Linked DNA regions of Homo sapiens: region 1 is linked to region 2. The links are contacts of gene promoters, found by promoter capture Hi-C in human tissues and cell types (Jung and others, 2019). All regions are on one chromosome and are shown on one strand. The core of a region is centred on a gene start or on the middle of the fragment in contact, and the rest is flanking DNA. Distances in the headings are between cores, read along the strand shown. Region 1 overlaps SLC7A14-AS1 (SLC7A14 antisense RNA 1). Region 2 holds the start of SKIL (SKI like proto-oncogene).

The links. Contacts are between HindIII fragments. The study calls those that stand out against the background at their distance.
Region 1: a fragment that was not itself captured here is called in contact with the fragment with the promoter of SKIL in region 2 in 1 of the 25 tissues and cell types used here (IMR-90 fibroblasts).

Annotation. Positions count from the first base shown.
Region 1 is chr3:170,712,162-170,716,419 of GRCh38, forward strand. All of the region lies in intron 3 of SLC7A14-AS1 (SLC7A14 antisense RNA 1), which reads left to right. It overlaps LOC124906302 (a long non-coding RNA gene), which reads right to left. Exons shown (of 3, transcript XR_007096159.1): 2 at 1,742-1,906. Among named protein-coding and RNA genes, the nearest start is that of SLC7A14, 130 kb to the left of the region's middle. The HindIII fragment of the contact is 4,077 bases long and covers 608-4,258 here.
Region 2 is chr3:170,355,145-170,359,521 of GRCh38, forward strand. SKIL (SKI like proto-oncogene) reads left to right here and starts at 2,571. Exons shown (of 7, transcript NM_005414.5): 1 at 2,571-2,619. RefSeq lists an enhancer at 1,144-1,243 and silencers at 1,524-2,423, 2,584-2,813, 2,864-2,993, 3,084-3,153. The HindIII fragment of the contact is 15,648 bases long and covers 1-4,377 here.

The DNA.
Region 1 (4,258 bases), core at 1,396-3,895, 360 kb after region 2:
CTTCTGATTGATATTAGATTGTTACTACCTCCTGAAGATTTTATCATTTTAATTTGTTGAATATGACTGGATTTCATACCGAAATTCAGTATTTGTTGACTACAATAAGTAGTTGTTGAATACAACTACTTATTGAGTGCCCATCATGTGCCAGGCTCTGTGCTGGGCACTGGGGATTAATATATACTCAAATAGTTGAATGAAGAGAAAGATATTCTGGCAAATCATTGCAGTTTAAATAAGCATTATGAAGTGGATTACTAGAAACAGTGGAAGGATAGAAGAGATATGGAAGACTGCCTGGGTGAGACATGAGTAACTTCAGCTGAACTTGAAGAATGAAGGGTATTTTTCAAGAGAATATATAAGAGATAGGACTTCCAGGCAGAGTAGAAAGGCACTGATGCCTTATATAACATGGCATGTCTGGACAACTTCAAAAAGTTTAGTATCATTGGCATGCAAAGGTAAAGGAAGCCAGGGCCGAGGCTTATAGTGTGCCAGATACCATTCTAACTGCTAAATATTTATTATCTCACTTAATTTCTATAACACTATGAGGGTGGTACCATTTGCCCCATTTTATAAAGGAGCAAACTGAGCCTTAGAGGGGTTACATAACTTGTTCAAGGTTACTGGTAGATGGTAGAAATGAGATTTGACCCTCCTGAAGAAGTGACATTATTAATGGCTATGCAAAACTGCTTCCCCAATATTTATCTTCTTACTCCAGCTCACAGAAAAACTTTTCTGGTTTTTGCTCTCATCAAGTAGCTGCCAAAGTACTTGTTTTTAATCAAGATATTTTTATCTGCAAGGTCATCAAAGATAGCTGGTGTGTGGAATGCAGCCATTGTACAATATCATCATTCCTTGGCTGAAAGGAATGTGGATCAGACCCTATTTCTCCAAATACGACAATTGCTGAATGGCAAATTATTTCAAGTTCAAATCGGAGGTTTGAACTTGAAATAATTATTATCAGCTAATCAAATTGCAGCTTCACCAAAATCTGGGCTTCAGCAGACTTTGAGCTGTAGAGGGAGTTTTGGAGAAAGCTGTATATTTGAAATTATAGAGGAATGAGTATGTTTATGAAAAAGCATTAGAAAAACAGATGCCTTTATCAGTTTCATGGCTTTGCTTCTTGTGAGTCTCTTTTCATTCTCCAAGCACCCTAGTCTGTGGATGAAGAGCCAGCCTGGGATGATGGAAATCCCAGCGAACCTGCAGCTTAAGATCTCAAGTTTGGTCACATAGGACACGTAGAAGCTTGAGCATGAAAGTTTCTCTTTTTAATTTCCTTCCCTGTGTGGACAAGGAGTTAAAAGTTCAGGTTTGAGGGCCAAAATTCCAGAGCTTAAATCCTAGCTTTGCCAATCCCCAAATGTGTGCCCTTGGACAGGATACTTCTTGCGCATTGGTTTGCACATCTGTAAACCAGGGAGAGTAGTAATACCTACCTCATGGGGCTGTTGGGGACAGTAACTGAGATAATTCATAGGAGAAGCTTAGAATAGCGTCCAGCACAAAGTAAGAATGCAAAAAATGTTAACTTTTATTATTGTTGTTTTCTTCTAGTTCTTGACTTCTCTGCCCCATTCAAGCCTAAGTGTTCCCTTAGCCCTACAGAAAGCTAGAAGAAAATCGTTCACTTCCTCTTTAATTTTTTTTCTACTTAAGGAAGACCAGTGTAAACATCTGTGCATTATAGTACAGTGCAGGTATGAAGGAGCCAGACCTGTAGCCCTGGTGCAACACATTTGGCATTCAGTGTGCTTTGTAGGCTGCTGCTCCTCACAACGGACAAGAATCCATTTAGTTTCAGATCAACAATGGTAGCTTTACTTCCTTTTTGCTCTCTGGTGGGAATTGCGGTCTTTTTGCCATAACCAGGCATTATGATCTGTGTATAATGGAAAAATAAATATTGATGAACTTTTTATTTATTTCTTTTAATGAGGGGAAGCTTACTCTTTTCAGTTGAAAAATTCTACTGGAAATAAATCATATTGCTATGGAAACCCTGCCCAATCAGCACTGAAGTGTGGTTGCTATATATGTTCTTTGAATGTACATGCTATCAGCATTACATTTTGGCACGTATTTGACTTCCAATTCTGTTTCCACAGTGTTAGACTAGAGCCCATCCGCTGACTGCTTCTCTGTTCAGTCTTTTAGGATTCCTTGCTATCTTTGGGATGCTGAATCATGTAGAAACCACAGAAATCCTGTGATTAGTTCTGGCTCTGCAACTTCTGTCCTGGGGCAGGTTTCTAGTCTTTCTGATCCAGTAAGATTATCTATAAATTCTTTGGACTATAAAAATAAAAACAATATCTTATAAGGTTTCGGTGAAGATCAAATAAAGTCATAATATGAATAAGTACTTAATACATTCTAAAATGCTATATAAAGGTAAAATAGTTTTGCTTCCAGAAAAGCTACCCACTGCATAAGTTACACATCTCAAACAATCTTTGGAGTTTCTGTTTTTTTTCCTTATAGTTGGGTTATGAGAGGTATGATGATGTAGAAGATGAATGCAGACCCACTGTGGTAAGAATCCCAGCAACATTACTCACTGTTTATATATGCAATCTTGGTCGGGTTACTTAACCTTTCTAAGCTTCACTTTCTTTATCTTTAAAATCAAAATGGTAGAATTTATATCCAGGATTATTTAGTAGATTAGAAAAAAATTATATGTTAAACACAGTGCTTGGCAGATAGATAACCACTTAAAAATGGTACTTACTGCTGAAAATAATGATGCTGTGCCCAAACTGACAACATCAAACAAATTCTAAACTACTCAGCAATTTGGAACTGGTTTATATCAAAGAGAATACCATTTGTCAACACCTGAAAATTCTTATTTATTCTAGAAGAGCATTCATTTAGAAATGACAACTCCTCATAGATTCTGCAACATTCACTGAGTATCTACTAAGTGCACAGAAAGATGAATAGAATGGCAAAGTTCTTATCCTCCATAGTGCTATAACTTGTGGAAGTATAATAAAGTTGCACACGAGTAACTGCAATGCTTGTGGTAACTCACTGATAATGTTCATGTGACAAGTAATTTCAATGAATATAATAGAATGATCAAGAATGCAAAAATGAATTCTTTCAAGCAGAATTTCTTGCACAAGAGTCTATGAAAACTCAGAATGAGAGAAACAGGTGCCACAACTCATAGATATGGAGACATGTATTAGTCCATTCTTATGCTGCTGATAAAGACATACCCAAGATTGGGTAATTTACAAAGGAAAAGAGGTTTAATGGACTTACAGTTCCACGTGGCTTGGGAGGCCTCACAATCATGGTGGAAAGAAAGGAAAAGCAAGTCATGTCTTACATGGATGGCAGCAGGCAAAGAAAGAGAGCTTGTGCAGGGGAACTCCTCTTTATAAAACCATCAGATCTTGTGAGACTTATTCACTGTCATGAGAACAGTACAGGAAAGACTTGCCCCCATGATTCAGTTACCTCCCACCAGGTCTCTCACACAACTCGTGGGAATTCAAGATGAGATTTGGGTGGGGACACAGACAAACCATATCAAGACAGCAGTGATATATCTGTCCCTGCAAAGCTTTGCAGAGTCTCTGACTGACCCTAAGGTTGAAAGTCAAATTGGAGGAGAGAGTGCTAATTATTATACAGGATGACTTTGTACCCTATCTCTGCCTGATAATTACCATCAGTACTAGTATAGTCACCAAAACATTCAATCTGAAGAGAAGTTGAAAATACATGGTGTCTCTGAGCCAAAATTGACCCTTGATGAAGAGAAGAAGTTGGTCTAAATTGAAACAGAACTATCAGTAATTCAATCAAGGAATGCTAAGTCAGAGCCAAGAAAGAGGGAGCATCTCATTTTCAGTTGTAGAGATTATTCAGCTCGGCTTATTTGGTAATTTAAATGTAGTCATACTTTAGTTGTAATGCACATAAATAGCACTTTGGTCATGGATCAAATGTGATAAATTTTAATAAATTTCTGAAGCAATACAAAAACTGCATGTACTCATTTTCGTCTTCACACACACATGTTCAAACACACACATGTGCATACACACACACAAGTGGACCCTGGATTAGGATGCTTTCGTAACTCAGTGAATTATTCTCCTCCCACCAGCAGAGTGAAATGGCTATTTTCTTTTCTTTCTTTCTCTTCCCTCTCCATCCTTTCCCTTCCTTTCCCTTTTTTGTTCTTTTCTCCACTCACGACTCCCTCCCTTCT
Region 2 (4,377 bases), core at 1,321-3,820:
TACAAAATTCATTACCTCGCAGTGCTTATTTTTTCTAAGGCCTGCATTTTCTGTGTCTGTGCAATTCTGTATTTGGAATAAAGAACCATTATCATTTGTGTTCAATGTCGTATGATACATACAATCAATTTTACTGATAACTTCTGAAAATCCTTAAGTAGGCCTGCAAAAATGTGCCTTCCTGTGAGCCTCCCCATCTGCCTCAGATCTATGTATAAATGGACCCCGTTCAGTTTCACTTGCTTTCAAACGCGTACCTTTGAGGTTTGGGAATTCAAGGACAAAATGATTTTAATTTGATGCATTTTGTACTTTGACCAATAAGGGAAAAATAAATGCCCTCAAATTTGATTGGTTCTAGTCATATTTGCCGGTCACTATTTGTCAAACCATTGCACTTAAAATCACAGGCATGAAAGATCTCTCAAAAACAGATTTCTGAGGAATGCAAATCAACAGAACGGGGAGGCGGATTAATGTGTTTGATTTCTCAAAAGTCTATTTACTGTCCAATTTATCTTCGTCCTTGGACATGCTAGCAAGTAATTATTCTTATGGCTGGTAAAATGACTGCTAAACATTTATTAATAATTGCAGTTTTGGAATTACTTTTTTATTAACCAGTCATGTTGGTTTCTAAAAATTGTTACTTCTGGCTAGACACAGGAGCCAGGTGCTGAGAGTTGACCTGGTGCCAAGTTTCAGGACTGTCCAGTCTTCACATCAGATCTTCAGCTAGGCCTTCTGAATATTCTCACAGTTAGAAAATCTATCCCCCTAGACTCGCAGATGCTGTTTTTCCCCCACTGGCTCTGCACAGAACATCATTATCTTTGCCACGCTTCTGTCTCTATGGCAATAACAGATGGAAAGTGCTGTGGAATTATTCATGTTCAGGAAAGGAGGCAGTCAAGAAGGAAGAAAAGGTGGGGGGGCGGGGTGGAGAGGGGGCACGACCTGGGAGCTCGGCGGTGGAGGCCTAAGGAAGGGAACTTGGGTGGGGGTGCGGGGAGTGGTGGGGATTGAGAGGCTTGTGAGCCTTTCGGAGGCCTGTTGTGAGGAAAAAAAAAATAAAAAGTACGAGCACAAGAGTATTTCCAGCCGGCCGACTGCAAATGTGGGCCCCCACAGGAACAACCCGAAGCAGTAAAACTAGAAGAAATTGGACGAAAATGGGGGGGAAAAAAGGGACAAAGCTCGAGTCTCCTGAATTTTGTGCACTGCTACTCGGTGGACTATTTCAGTTCCTGATCTTGTGGTGGGGTGGAGAAAAGGGGATTTCTTGGTGTTTCGAAATGTGACGGAGCAGCTCTGCAGAGTTCAATATGCTAATCGGCTACCCTGGGAACCAGGAAGACCACCCTACACGCCTCAGAGGGTCACAGCCGGAAAGCTCTTGAGTCCTATCTTCCCTACCTCGTCTCGTCCCTCTCCAAAAAAACACACACACAAAAAAACACCCTCAGTAAACACTGTAAAAACCTTTAATTTATAGCTCCCTTCTGGAACCGAGAGAGCAGCCTGGTGGGGTGGAGGCAGGAGGCTGGGGAGTAGGGACAGAAATGTTTGCTCTCGGTTTTGCCGGAACTTTGGCCACCCCTCCCGCCCGGCCCGATGGCGGATGGAGGTCAGCCAGGGGAAGGCGTCTGGGTGGAGGCCGCCCGGGCGAGGCCGGGGCCGCCGGGGCGGGGCGGAGCGCCGGCAGCTGGCTGGGCGGCCCTCGGGCAGGAGGCCCCGCGGGGGCGAGGGGCAGCCCAGGAGGGAGGTCCCGCGGGGGCGGGGAGCAGAGCCGGCCCCGGGGGCCCTGCAGGGCGGCCGCCGCCCGGCTGCCTCCGGGGCGGGGCGGCCCAGCTGCGGCCCCGCAGGGGGAGGGTCGCCCGTGCCTGACCTCGGGCGGCGGCACTCTGCCGGGCGGGCACTGCCTCCGCCCTGCCGGCTGCTGGGGTCGCGCACAGTGCACCGCGCGGCTGCCCTGCCCCCTCTTCCCCGCTGCGCGGCGTCCGAGCGGCCAGGGCGCCCCCGCGTCTGGCCCATCACCACAGAGCGGCGGGTGGGGCGGGGGCGGGGCGGTGGCCCCAGACAGCCGGCTGGGCGACTAGAGGAAGGAAGGAGGGAGGGCGGCGGTGAGGGTGGGGTGGGGAGGGAACATCCTGTCTGCGCCGGGTGCACCGCAGACAGCGCCGCGCGCCAGCTTCCCAGACGGCGCGCGGGGCCAGAAGCGCCGGGCGCGCGCCTGGGGGGAGGGGCACGCGCGCGAGACGACGGGGCCAGGGGGGCGCTCTGAGGAGCCACAATAGGCCAGACGGCACGCGCGTCCACGAGGGGGCCGGGAGCCGCGAAGTGGCGGCGGCGGCGACGACGCCGGCGGGCCCGCGCGCGCGGCGCCGCCGCTGGCTCCGTTCCCTTCCCCTCCCCCTCCCCGCCGCCCTCGCTCTCCCCCGGGCGGCCGGAGACGGCGGCGGCGTCTGCGGGAAGCTGTGTGTCTCCGCAGTGACGTGGGCGGGCCGAGGACTCGGTGACGTCAGAGGGCTGTGTGTAGCGATGTGTGTGGGGTTCGGAGCCGCGCCGGCACAGCCGAAGGGAGCGGGCGAGCGGCGACGGCGGCGGCGGCGGGCACAGGTGCGGCTCCGGCTTACGGCGGCGACGCGGCGGAGGCGGCGGGAGGCCAGAGGCGCTCACCCTCCTAGGAGCCCGACGGCGGCGACAGGGGCGGTGGGGAATTCACAAAGCTCGTCGAGCTTACCCGGGCACCGAGGCCCGAGTAGGGGGTTTGGATGCGCGGGTCCCGGGTGGGGTCGGGGCCAGAGGGGGTCGCTAGGCGGGTGTTCCACGGCTGATCACGCTTCGTTGGCCCCAGGCGGTGGGCGCCGGCAGGGCAGGGCGCTGTAGTTGACGGGAGCCGCGGGGACCCCGGAGACCCGGACGCCCGTCACCGCCCCCCTCCCCCAGTCCAGCAGCGCTCCGCGGGGATGCCCTGGTCTCGACCCGGTCCGTCAGCCCCCGGCGGCGCAGGGATCCGCGCCCGGCGCCTAAACTGCCCTGGTGTCCTCTTCGTTCTGGCCCGGGGCTGGCGCGGGGAGGTGCAGCATTAGGGGCGCTGAGGTGACACCCGAGAACTTCCCAGGGAGAGGGTGCGCGGGGGGGTGGATTTCCACAGTCCTTCCCGCGGCCCCCGCGGGGGGGCGGTGTTGGGAGGGCACTTGGGGTTATCCCAGGCTCGCCGGTGGGGGTGGGGGGACTCCTCCCTTTACTTCCCTCCACCCCCTTGCACACCCACCCCCAGGCTTCCCGTGTCCCTTGTTCTCCCTCTCTCCGGGTTAGAGATAGGTGGGTGGCTTTGAGTGGGCGGAGGACTTCAGGGTTTTAGGGGCTCCCCCATTCTAGGTCATGCCTCTTGCTCTCTTCCTTGGCCTGTGTTGAGTAAGGTGTGTTCCTGTGGTGGACGAAAGTCTGTACGATGGTTGGTGGCATTGGTCCTTAATCCTTTGGGTCTGTTTTAAGGTAAAGTGCTGAGAGTTTGGGAAGCAAAAATTTCTATTTATTGGATTTCTTTTGGCTTTTCTCTCAAGAAGGAAGTGGAAAAAGAGTCTTTTCTTTTTCCCTCTTCCTCCATTTGCATTCTTTGTGAGGTTTGTCTGCCTTGTGCTTTTTGTCCCGGATTAGTCTTGTTGAAGGATGGAGATTCCCAGGCGTGGAGTCTATAGCTTTTGGCTTCCATTAAGTAAAATCGCTAACCTTTTTTTAAGAGAAAGTTAATTTTTGCCTGCAGTCATTCCAGAAAAATAGTGTACACGGACTAGCTGAATTAATCCACTTAAAATTGTAACTTAGTTACATATGGTAGATATGTTAACTCCTATCTGATTTTTTTGGATGAAACTGTTGTTTTGTTTTTAAATAGGAGATGAAGTAATGGATTTTTTTCCCTCCCTTAAAATGGCATAGCTGAGAAAGCCCCGGTACTACTAATTGAGATGATCTGCTTAAGAGTCTTCATATTCTGAACTCGAAAGGCCTTTTATGTTATATTATTGCTCGCTTTACGCAACTCCAAATTGCTTTCCTATTTAAATGAATGTTCTTCTAGTAAACTGGTGTTAGATTTAAAGAAATCACTCAAGCTTCACCTTGGTAAACTGAACTCAGTTTAAGATTAAGAAACTGATTTCGGCCGGGTGCGGTGGCTCACGCCTGTAATTCCAGCACTTTGGGAGGCCCGGGCGGGCGGATCACCTGAGGTCAGGAGTTCAAGACCAGCCTGACTAATATGGTGAAACCCCGTTTCTACTAAAAATACAAAAAAATTAGCCGGGTGTCGTGGCTTGTGCCTGTAGTCCCAGCTACTCCGGAGTCTGAGACAGGAAAATTGCTTGAACC